Regions from separate parts of the Homo sapiens genome. Here region 2 is linked to region 1. The links are contacts of gene promoters, found by promoter capture Hi-C in blood cells and fetal thymus (Javierre and others, 2016). All regions are on one chromosome and are shown on one strand. Each heading gives the region's core, a stretch centred on a gene start or on the middle of the fragment in contact. The rest is flanking DNA. Distances are from core to core; before and after follow the strand shown. Region 1 holds the start of MYO3A (myosin IIIA). Region 2 overlaps APBB1IP (amyloid beta precursor protein binding family B member 1 interacting protein).

What was found. The method cuts DNA at HindIII sites, captures the fragments that hold promoters and counts their contacts. A CHiCAGO score of 5 or more calls a contact.
Region 2: a contact is called between a fragment that was not itself captured here and the fragment with the promoter of MYO3A in region 1, in 1 of 17 cell types (endothelial precursors). The highest score is 5.8, in endothelial precursors.

What each region holds. Positions count from the first base shown.
Region 1 is chr10:25,929,742-25,935,555 of GRCh38, reverse strand. It overlaps MYO3A (myosin IIIA), which reads right to left and starts at 1,327. Exons shown (of 35, transcript NM_017433.5): 1 at 1,228-1,327. LOC101929073 (a long non-coding RNA gene) reads left to right here and starts at 1,846. Exons shown (of 4, transcript NR_120650.1): 1 at 1,846-2,002; 2 at 3,195-3,248. The HindIII fragment of the contact is 8,280 bases long and covers 1-5,814 here.
Region 2 is chr10:26,546,483-26,552,296 of GRCh38, reverse strand. All of the region lies in intron 11 of APBB1IP (amyloid beta precursor protein binding family B member 1 interacting protein), which reads right to left. Among named protein-coding and RNA genes, the nearest start is that of LINC03028, 30 kb to the left of the region's middle. RefSeq lists an enhancer at 841-1,230. The HindIII fragment of the contact is 1,374 bases long and covers 1,989-3,362 here.

The DNA of each region.
Region 1 (5,814 bases), core at 78-2,577:
GGCATTAAACAACTCTCAAGCTACCAGATCCGTCTGAATTATAAAAATGCTTAAGAAGGTTTAAGTGCACCTGTACAATTAGTTAATTCACCAAGAAAACTAGAAACAACCAGAAATGAAGATTCTTTTGAGTTTTCAAAAACGCTTAGTGTGTAGGGTTCAGTGGCATTACAACAGTCATTTCAAGGCTTATGGCCAATTTCCATTCTAACAATAATAAAATTTTTTTTCTGGAAGGGGGATAGTAGCAAGGTGCGAGTTAGCAACTACTTGGAGAACAGAACAGAGCTGTTGGTGAGCAGACTTGAAAGGACATCCTTTCCTGGTAGGTTTCTCTATTTCTCAATAATGATCATACTTTTCTTGTCTGCTCTTTCTCCTTAAAATTAAAACTCCTTTACGGATGCATTTGGGGTTGCAGGGAGCCCAGCTCCACCGACCTGCTTGTTCTGAGAAATCACCCGGAACGCAGTTCCCTCAGGGACGGGCCGACCCAGCGCCACCTGTGGGCGGCGCCGCAAAGCCCGCGCGCGCCACAGGTCTCCGAGGCGACACCCGCCAGACTCGGCGCCTCCTCCCTCCAGTCTCCCTGCAGGGCCCCCTCAGTTCTCGCCCCTCGTTACTCTTCGAGGTCCTCCCCTTACGTTTCCTTCCCAAGTTCACCCCTAAAGATCTTCCTTCACCCCTTACGCCACCCTTCCCGTTCCCTCCTCCTGTTTCCACTTCACGTTCACCCCTCCCGTTCCCTCCTCAAGTTCATTCCTCACGTTCCCTCCTCGAGATCCCCCCTCACTATCCCCTCGCGTTCCCTCCTCGGGTTCACCCACAAGATCTTCCCTCAAGTCCACCCCTCAGGTTCACCCTTCCCGTTCCCTCCTCCTGGCTCCCCCTCGAGTTCACCCCCGCCCCCGTTTCCCCCTCAAGTTCATCCCTCTCCTCCCCTCGAGCTCTCCCATCCAGCTCGTTCAAGCCTCACATTCCCCCTCTTGGTTTCCCGCTCTACTTCTCCCCTCGAGTCCCCTCTCTCACCCCAGGCCCCGACAAACACACAGGTCCTCCGGATCTGACCTGGGCGGGCGGGCGGTCGCGGCAGCCTCGCGCTCAGAGAGCCCCGGGCCCGCCCTGCAAGCCCCGGGGTCCAAGGAAGCGGGGCCGTTTCCAGCGCCGCGCGGGCGCCGCTACCCACCGCCGCCCCAAGCCAGTCCCCTGCGCTGTCCCGACACGTACCTGGGCGGGAAGCCGGGCGCCTCCTTATTTCTTTACGGGGGCGCTGGCTACGGGCGCTCCCTCGAGGGGCGGGCAGGGGCAGCCGAGCAGGGGAAGAACTGGGCCGCCTGTAGAGGGCGGGCCGAAGGTCGGCGGGAGGATCTGACCTGGGTCAACCGAGCCGAAGGGGCCCCTTATCCCGGCTCGCGGGGAATATTCTTCCTCTCGCCGCTCTCTCCACTGCCCGCAGGTGGAGGCCGCGCCATCCGCGCCATCCACATCCTCGCAGGGCCCTTGGCTGGCTGCCGAGGGGCTTCCCGGGACTCCGGCCGCGCTTCCTTGGCCCGGAGCCCGGCGAGAAGGGAGTGGGGCCCCTGGATCCTGGAGCCCTCATGGACTGGCCCAGTGCCTGGAGCAAATTCTGCTCCCGGCCCCGCGTAGTATCTTCCTCCCAGGAAATTCCCCACACTACGAGGGTCTCGGACCCGGAAAATGTAATGGGTTTCAGGTCCAAGAGGGATAGTGAGTGGCTAATGAGATCGCTCCCAGGGTCCAGTTCCCTTTTGCAGACTGCTAAGGAGTTTGGGGCTGGGGCTGAAGTTAAAGGCAAGAACTTCTACCCTCGGGAGGCAGCCCGTTAGTCACCAACCCTCTACTTGGTCCTTTGCAATCCTTTCCAGACCTTCTGTGGTCTCCTGTCACACAGGGCTCACCTGGGGGGACCCTGATGGCCAGATTCTCTTGAACAGTCTCTAGGGACATATTGGGTATTGCTATACCTTCATCCATTGAACAGGTGAGAACTACAACCAAAACATCCTTTGATTCTGTTAATTATCTCAATGGGTCTGTCGTTCATGTTATCTAAATGAGAATTATAGAAGAGACCAAAGAGAGGTCATCTAATCCTAATCAATGCATATCTTAAGGAAAAAATGTGATGTTAAAAATCTGTTTCAAAAGGTCATTCAGTATATTCAAGACCCTTCCTCTTAAAGTAGCTTTAAAATTTAGAAATTGGGCCGGGCGCGGTGGCTCACGCCTGTAATCCCAGCACTTTGGGAGGCCGAGGCGGCCGGATCACAAGGTCAGGAGATCGAGACCATCCTGGCTAACACAGTGAAACCCCGTCTCTACTAAAAAATACAAAAAAATTAGCCGGGCATGGTGGCAGGCCCCTGTAGTCCCAGCTACTTGGGAGGCTGAGGCAGGTGAATGGCGTGAACCCAGAAGGCAGAGTTTGCAGTGACGGAGCCGAGATCACGTCACTGCACTCCAGCCTGGGCGATAGAGCGAGACTCCGTCTCGAAAAAAAAAAAAAAAAAAATTAGAAATTGAATAGTGGACTTGTAATAGGGATTATATTGAATCAAAAGCCTAACATATATGAACAGCTTCAAATCAAGAAGTTATCTCATCAAAAACAGATCACAGCAAATATATTATTCAACATAATTATGGCCATTTGGACATACCTGGGAGATTTTAAGAATTAGAGCAACTGAGTGCTCACATGCAAAATAAAGTCACAATCTCAATAGAGACAAACAACACCCAATTAAAATACAATAGAAAAATAGATCCCATTCACAATAGAAGCATGAAAGAACATGAAATAACTAAGAATGATAAAAAATGAGAAATATAGGAGAAAAGTGGGAAAAAATTTAAAAATGCAGGATTGTTGACAGACTATTTATAATTGGAAAGACACTGGAATCCTAAGTTAGAAGACAAGATGTTAAACACATAATTACTACCTCCCAAATTAAGAGACAAATATATTCTAGAATTCATATGAAAACTACAGAAGCTAGAAGAGCTAAGTCCAGTGGTTCTCAGAGTGTGGTCTAGGGGAAATTTGTTGGGGGTCAGGGGGCGGTCTCTGAAACCATTTCGGGAGGTTCACAGGACCAAAATTACTTTAATAATAAGACTTTTTTCCACTCCTTTTTCTCTCCCATTTTTTAAATGAATTTATGATGAAGTTTTCCAGTGGCTCCATAATATGTGATATCACAACAGATTGAATGCAGAAACAGGTAACGTCTTCTGTTATGCCAGACATTAAAGAAATGTGCAAGAATATAAAATAATGCCATTCTTACCATTAAACTTTTTTGGTTTTGGAAAATACAGGTATTTTTCACTTAAAAATATGCTATTCATGTTAACATGTAATGAGCTTAGTAGTGAAATATATTTTTAAAATTTCTCAGTTTTAATTGCTATAACATAAAAGTTCTTTGGAGTCCTCAAAACTTTTTAAGAGTGTAAATAAAGGAAGGTTCTAAGACAAAAAAAATTGAGAACTTTTTTTTTTTTTTTTCTTTGAGACGGAGTCAGTCTCACTCTGTTGCCAGTCTGGAGTGCAGTAACACGATCTCGGCTCACTGCAACCTCCGCCTCCCAGGTTCAAGTGATTCTCCTGTCTCAGCCTCCCGAGTAGCTGAGACTACAGGCACCGCCACCATGCCCAGCTAATTTTTGTATTTTTAGTAGAGACAGGGTTTCACCATGTTGGGCAGGATGGTCTCGATCTCCTGACCTTGTGATCCACCCACCTCAGCCTCCCAAAGTGCTGGGATTACTGGTGTGAGCCACTGCCTCCAGCCCTGAGAACCTTTTGATAAGGCAATGAAAAAAGAAACATGTAATTAAGCTATAATAATGAAAAGAATGGCATTAACACGGAATAGAATAGTGTGTCCAATCCAACCAGCCTAAGACCATCAAGGACAAAACCTGCAGTCCCACAAAGTCAGGTTCATTGACTCAATGTTACAGTAGAGATACTGCAAACTAGAGGAACCATGAAGTGGAGTTTTGATAGGCTCAAAGCAAAGCAGAGCTGGGAGTCAACATGAGGTTTGGGCTGTGACCAAGGGTTCTGTTTCCTTGGATAAATGTGGAATGCTGTCTTGGGAAACTCCTTATCTGAAGCTCTGTACTTGAGTTGTAAATCGGGGCCATGTCTCTGTTGTCAAAGTGAGTTAGATCCTACAAGCAATTATGGGAGGTTTCATTTTTACTGACATAATTTCAAAAATCAAATTTTCTGATAGTCTATGAGCATAGGAAGCAAGATTTTCCAATGAGTTAGAAAGAAGTAGTCACTCAAAAAAGGGGACTGTTGTTGACATTTCACAGCACAGCCTGCCCTTGGAAGAAGCATGGTGTCCTGTTCATCTTACACCTGGCAATATCAACTTTTTTTTTTTTTTTAAGTTTTTGTTTTTCCTTATGTTGCTCAGGCTGGTCTCAAACTCCTGGGTGCAAGAGATCCTCTCATCTCAACCTTCTGAGTATCTGGGACTACGGGTGCGTGCCACAGTCCAGCCTCATTCCAGTTTTAACCGACTCATCTACTTCTTGGCAAAAAGACTCAGAGAAAGCAGAACTGGGCCGAGCAAGGTGGCTCATGCCTGTAATCCCAGCTACTCAGGAGGCTGGGGAGGTGGAGCAATCTCAGTGAGCGAAGATCGCGCTTCTGCACTGGATGACAAAGCGAGACTCCATCTCAAAAAAAAAAAAAAAAAAGAGAGAGAGAGAGAAAAAAAAATGAGTGCACTTGCCAGGAGCAAACTTCCACCTTGTAGACTAATGGCGTCTCATCAGTTAGCCCAGCACAAGTGACCCAGTGATCTGGGAGATCAATTAAGGGAAGAAAGATTGCTCATTCCTGCTTTCTGAGCTTCATAAACCCTACCTTGTGATATTTGTACATGAACTGCAGCCCAATCAAATTAGTTCTCAAATTTAGCCTTATCTCTCTATTCTGCTGATATTGCCTTATTTAGGCCTTCGCCATCCTAGAGTATTCCAGATGTTTCCTAATTTTTCTACTGCCTTGCCCTCTCCACTTTATAATAAGTCAAATCAAATATATTACTCAAGCCCCTTGTAGGAAGACTCCATGCATTTATGATTATGCCTGGGTGGTGACCCTCTCAGGCAAGAAAACAGAGTAAATCGCCTTTAGGTCTAAAAGTTCTCTCTTTTAAAAGTGCAAACTTTCTTTTAGTGCATTATTTCATTTTATATGCATAATGTCCCTCTTTAATGGAAATACCTGTAAGGTAGGTGTCTCTATTTACTAATAAGGAAACTGAAGGGAGGAATCAATGATTTCTCAAAGGCCACCATCTTAGTAATCACCTCTTTATCACACTAAATTCCAAAAGTTACCACCTCTGTAAATGCTCAAATTAGAGTTTGATTCTCACAGAGCTATCAAGGATGAAAACATGATGCTTCAAATGATCTAAACCCCACTGAACTAGCTTCCCAGTGATGGGCCAAGAATGGGCTTCGGCCTTCCTGTGTCCTAAGGACTTTCTTAGGACTTTCTCTCTTTTCTGTATCCACATTGAATTCCCACTCCCTTTTATACTTACTGAACCATTATAATCTTAGTTGTGATATGCTTGACTGTTCTTTTCCTAGGAAAATGCATTTGCCGGAGTTAGTATGATGGATATAGTAGACCACTTTTAAGGAATCCATCCCTCCATTTCTTATTCATTACTCAATTAATATTTACTGGGTACTTCTAGGTGCTGCAACTGTTCTAGGCATTGAATTTGAAACCCGTCTTTGCCACATATA
Region 2 (5,814 bases), core at 1,426-3,925, 620 kb before region 1:
GACAGAGTCTCACTCTGTTGCCCCGGCTGGAGTGCAGTAGTGTGATCATAACTCACTGCAACCTTGAATGTGGGCTCAAGGGATCCTCCTGCCTCAGACTTCTGAGTAGTGGGAACTATAGGTGCATGCTACCACACCCTGCTGATTTAAAAAGTTTTTCTGTAGAGATGGGGTCTTGATATGTTGCTCAGGCTGGTCTCGAGCTCCTGGGCTCAAGCGATCCTTCTGCCTTGGCCTCCCAAAGTGCTGGGATTACAGGCATGAGCCACTGTGCCTGCCCTGAACCATGTTTTGAAGGACACAATGGTACAAGGGGCTTTGATCTGTATTCCATCCATCCATCCATCCATCCATCCATCCATCCATCCACCCACCCATCTGTCCATCCACCCATCCATTAATCTATCCATTCATCTGATATGTATTGAGCATTTACAATGTGTCAAATATCACTCCAAGCTCTGGAACACAATAGTGAACACAATAGAAAAAGTCCTTGCTCTCATGACATTTATATTCTACTATGGGAGAAAGCCAATAAAAATACAAAACACTAAAGTAATATAATTTTTCATTGTGAAAAATACTGTAAAGAAAAATATAGCTGAGTAAGGGGTAGGAAGCAGGTGAGCGACGGGGCGGAATTCCAGCGCTCCTTCCATGACATTCCACTACTTCCTAACGGGCCTCCATAGAAACATAACTTCTCCTGGAAGATATTTACTTCTGCCCCATTGCATCTAGCCCCAGAATGGAATGAGAAAGAATGCATGAAGGAACGGCTTCTATCCACGCACAAAAGTGCCTTTATGAGGGCTAAGGAAACTGACCGTGAGTGAGACTGGGAAGCCCCGCTGGACTGCAAAAATGAGTGAAACCGCAGTTGGACGGTAAGGGGATGGTTTCCCCTGACTATGTTGCCCCTCCCCTGAGCCACTGCGGTACCCACACATGGAAAGTCCCCCCGGACTCACACTCAGGTTTCTTACCACACTGGGTCCTTCTGTGGGAGGCTTGCTTCTGCATGGGCCTATGGAGAGCACTGTGAGTACCAAGTACCAACGGGGCTGAAACACGTGAGGCCAGCAAGGGACAAAGAGAGGGAGTGGGGCTAGCAGCAGCCAGGTGGACAAATTTGGCAGTGGCTCACCTTCCCTGCCAGATGTGATGATACACCAGATGGGCTGTTTATGCTGTGCTGTGGGAGGCATGGTCCACAGAACCTCTGGACCTGAGAGCCTGACCGGCTTTCCCACACCATCCAGTGGGCCCTCTGTGGGTCTCCCAGGGCCCATGCAGTTTGAACAGTGTATCCTCGGCAGAGTTAGTGTAGGATTCGGGTCTAACCTGGACTTAGGAGGCCCTCTAGTGCTGAAATGACATACAAAAGTCAATCTGCTCACAATTTCTGCATACGCCCACTAAAAAAGAACGGTCATAAACAAATCCAGACAGGGAAGACTGAAATAAATACCTAACTCAACAATGCAAAGACAGAGCCCAATGTCTACAAGGAGTAAGAATAGCCTAGAAAACATGGTCTCACTAAATGGACAAAAAGAGGTGCCAGCTATCTGGCAGACAAAGAATTCAAAAATAGCTGTTATAACAAAACTCAGCAAACTTCAAGAAAACACAGAGAAGCAATTCAGAAATTTATCAGAAGCATTCATCAGATAAATAGAAATAATTAAAAAAACAAACAAATCCTAGAGCTGAAAAGTATAACAAACAAAATGAAAAATGAAACAGAGGACATCAACTGCAGAATTGATCAAGCAGAATAATCAGTCAGCTTGAAGGCAGGCTATTTGAAAATACATAGTCAAAGGAGAAAAAAGGAAAAAAATGAAAAGGAATAAAGAAAAAATTACATGACCCATGGGACATCATCAAAAGAGCAAATCTACATGTAACTAACTTTAAAGAGAGAGTAAAGAATGAAAAGGGATAGAAAGCTTATTCAAATAAATAATAATAGAAAAGCTTCCAAATCAGAAGAAAGATACAAATATCCAGGCACAGGAAGGTCAAAGGTCACCAATCAGATTCAACCTAAATAAGAATACTCCAATATATATCATAATCAAATTCTCAAAGGTCAAAGACAAAGCGATGCACCTGAAAGCAGCAAGAAAAAAAAAGCAAATAACACATAAGGGAATTCTAATATGCCTGGCAGCAGACTTAGCAGAAACCTTGCAGGCCAAGAAAGAGTGGGACAATATATTCAGAGTGATGAAAGATTAAAAAAAAGATTAAAAAAAAAACCAAGAATACTGTACCCAGAAAAGCTATTCTTCAGAAATGAAGGAGATAAAGACTTTTTCAGCCAAAGAAAGCTCTCAAATAAACAATCTAATGATGCATCTCAAGGAACTAGAAAAAATAAGAACAAACTAAACCCCAAATTAGTAGGAGAAAAGAAATAATAAAGATCAGAGCACAAATAAATGAAATAGAGATTAATTTCATTCATTTGAAAAAGAAATATTAAGGCTAAAAGAGGCTAAAACACAAATATTAATAAAACAAAGAGTAAGTTTTTTGAAAAAATAAAATTGAGAAACCTTTAGCTAGTCTAAGAAAAAAAGAAAGATGACTGAAAGAAATAAAATGAAAGATGAAAAGAAAGACATTACAACTGATACTACAGAAATACAAAAGATCATAAAAACTACTATAAATAATTACACACTAGCAAAATGGAAAACCTAGGAAAACATGACTAAAATCCTAGATGCATATAACCTACCATGATTGAAACAGGAAGAAACAGAAAACCTAAAAAGACCAACAATGAGTAATGAAATTGAAGCTGTAATAAAAAGTCTCTTATCAAAGAAAAGCCCAGGACCTGATGGCTTCACTGCTGAGTTCTAGAAACATATAAAGACTAATTCTTCACAAACTATTTCAGAAAATTGAAAAGGAGGAAACTCTTCCAAACTCATTCTATGAGGCCTACATTATCCCAATTCCAAAACCAAACATGGACACAACAAAAAAGAAAACCTTCAGGCCAACATCCCTGATGAACATAGATACAAAAGTCCTCAAAAAAATACTAGCAATCCAAATTAAATAGCATATTTAAAAGACCATTCATCATGATCAAGTGGGATTCATCCCAGCAATACAAGGATAGTTTAGCATATACAAATCAATAAATGTGACACATCACATTAACAGAATAAAGATTAAAAACCAAATGCTTATTTCAACAGATGCAGAAAAAGCATTTGACAAAAATTCAGCATCTCAACAAATTAGGTATAGAAGAAACATACTTCAACGTAATAAAGTTTATATATGTTAAACCCACAGCCAACATCACCCTGAATGGGAAAAAATTAGAAGCTTTTTCCCTAAGATCTCAAACAAGATAAGGATGCCCACTTTCACTGCTACTATTCTGCATAGTACTGGAACTCTTAGCGAGACCAACTAGGCAAGAGAAAGAAAGAAAAGGCATCCAAATTGGAAAGGAGGAAGTCAAATGGTCTCTGTTTGCAGACAACATGATCTCATATGTAGAAAATCTCAAAGACTCCACCAAAAAAACTGTTAGAACTAATAAACAAATGCAGTAAAGTTTCACGATAGAAAATCGGCATACAAAAATTAGTAGCATTTCTATTCAACAGTAGCCAACTATCTGAAAATCAAGAAAGCAATCCCATTACAATACCTACACAAAAATAAAATACCTAGAAATAAATTTAACCAAGGAGGAGAAAGAGCTCTATGACGAAAACTATAAAACAGTGATAAAAGAAGGTGAAGAGGATATAAATGGAAAGATATCCCGTGTTCATAAATTGGAAGAATTAATATTGTTATAATGTCCATGCTACCAAAAGTAATTTACAGATTCAAAGCAATCCCTTGAACAATGAGAACACATGGACACAGGAAGGGGAACATCACACACCGGGGCCTGTTGTGGGGTCGGGGGAGGGGGGAGGGATAGCATTAGGAGACATACCTAATGTTAAATGACGAGTTAATGGGTGCAGCACACCAACATGGCACATGTATACATATGTAACTAACCTGCACGTTGTGCACATGTACCCTAAAACTTGAAGTATAATAATAAAAAAAAATTTTAATGTCATACTTCACACAGAAATAGAAAAAAGCAATCCTCAAATTTATGTGGAAACACAGACTCCAAATAGCCAAAGCAACCTTGAGCAAAAAGAACAAAGCTGGAGGAGTCACAAACTGATTTCAAAATATACTACAAATCTATAGCAGTGTGGTATTGGCATAAAAACAGACACATAGACCAATGGAACAAGATAGAGAGTCCAGAAATAAATCAATGCATTTAGAGCCAACTGATTTTCAACAAAGGTGTCCCCCACAAAAGAAAAAGAAGAAGAAAAACAAACCAAAAAAGTCACATTGAGGGAAAGATAGTGTCTTCAATAAACAGTGTTGGGTTAACTGGATATCTACATGCAAAGCGTGTAACTTGACCCCTATTTCTCACCATAAACAAAAATCGACCCAAAATAGATTAGTTAATATATGACCCAAAACTGGCCGGGCGCAGTGGCTCATGCCTGTAATCCCAGCACTTTGAGAGGCCGAGGTAGGCGAATCACCTGAAGTCAGGGGTTCGAGACCAGCCTGGCTAACATGGTGAAACCCCATCACTACTAAAAAATACAAAAAAATTAGCTGGGAGTGGTGGCGCGTTCCTGTAATCCCAGCTACTCGGGAGGCTGAGGCAGGAGAATTGCTTGAACCCGAGAGGCGGAGGTTGCAGTGAGCTGAGATCATGCCATTGCACTCCAGCTTGGTCAACAAGAGCGAAACTGTGTCTCAAAAAAACAAAACAAAACAAAGCAAAACAAACAAACAAACCAACAAAAAGAAAGACCCAAAACGGTGAATCTGCCTAGCAAGGAAAACAATCAACAGAGTAAAGAGACAACCTACAGAATGAGAAAAAATATTTGCAAATTATACATTTGACTAAGGGTTAATAAGAAGAATATATAAGGAACTCATATAACTCACTAGCAAAAAACCCAAATAATCCAATTTTTAAAAAATGGACAAAAGACGTGAATAGATATTTCACCACAGAAGACATACACAGGGCCAATAGGAATTTAAAAAATGCTTAACATCACTAACCACCAAGGAAATGCAAATCAAAACTACAATGAGATTTTGCATCATCCCAATTAGAATGGCTATGATAAAAGGACAAAAAATAGCAAATGCTGACAAGGATGTGGAAAAACAAGAACTCTTATGCACCATTGGCAGAAATGTAAATTAGTCTAGCCATTACAGAAAACAGTATGGAGGTGCCTCAAAAAACTGAAAATACATCTACCATATGATCCAGTATTTCCACTGTTGGGTATATATACAAAGGAAATGAAATCAATATGTCAAAGAGACACCTGCCCTCTCATGTTTATTGCAGCACTGTTCACAATAGCTAAAATATAGAATCAACCTAAATGCCCATCAGTGGATGAATAGGTAAAGAAAATACAAAAATATTTAGATTCCACTCATATGTGGAATCTAAAAGAAAATGATTTCATAGGAGTTGAGAGTAGAATAGTGGTTACTAGAGACCGGAGAGAATGGGGAGAGAGGCTTGTCAATGAGTACAGTGTTATAGTTAGGAAGAATAAGTTCTGGTACACTACTGCAAGGTAGGGTGACTATAGCTAACAATAATGCATTGTATATTTCAAACAGCTAGAAGAGAGGATTTTATGATAAACGTTTGTGCTAATTACCATGATTTGATGATTACACAATGTTTACATATATCAA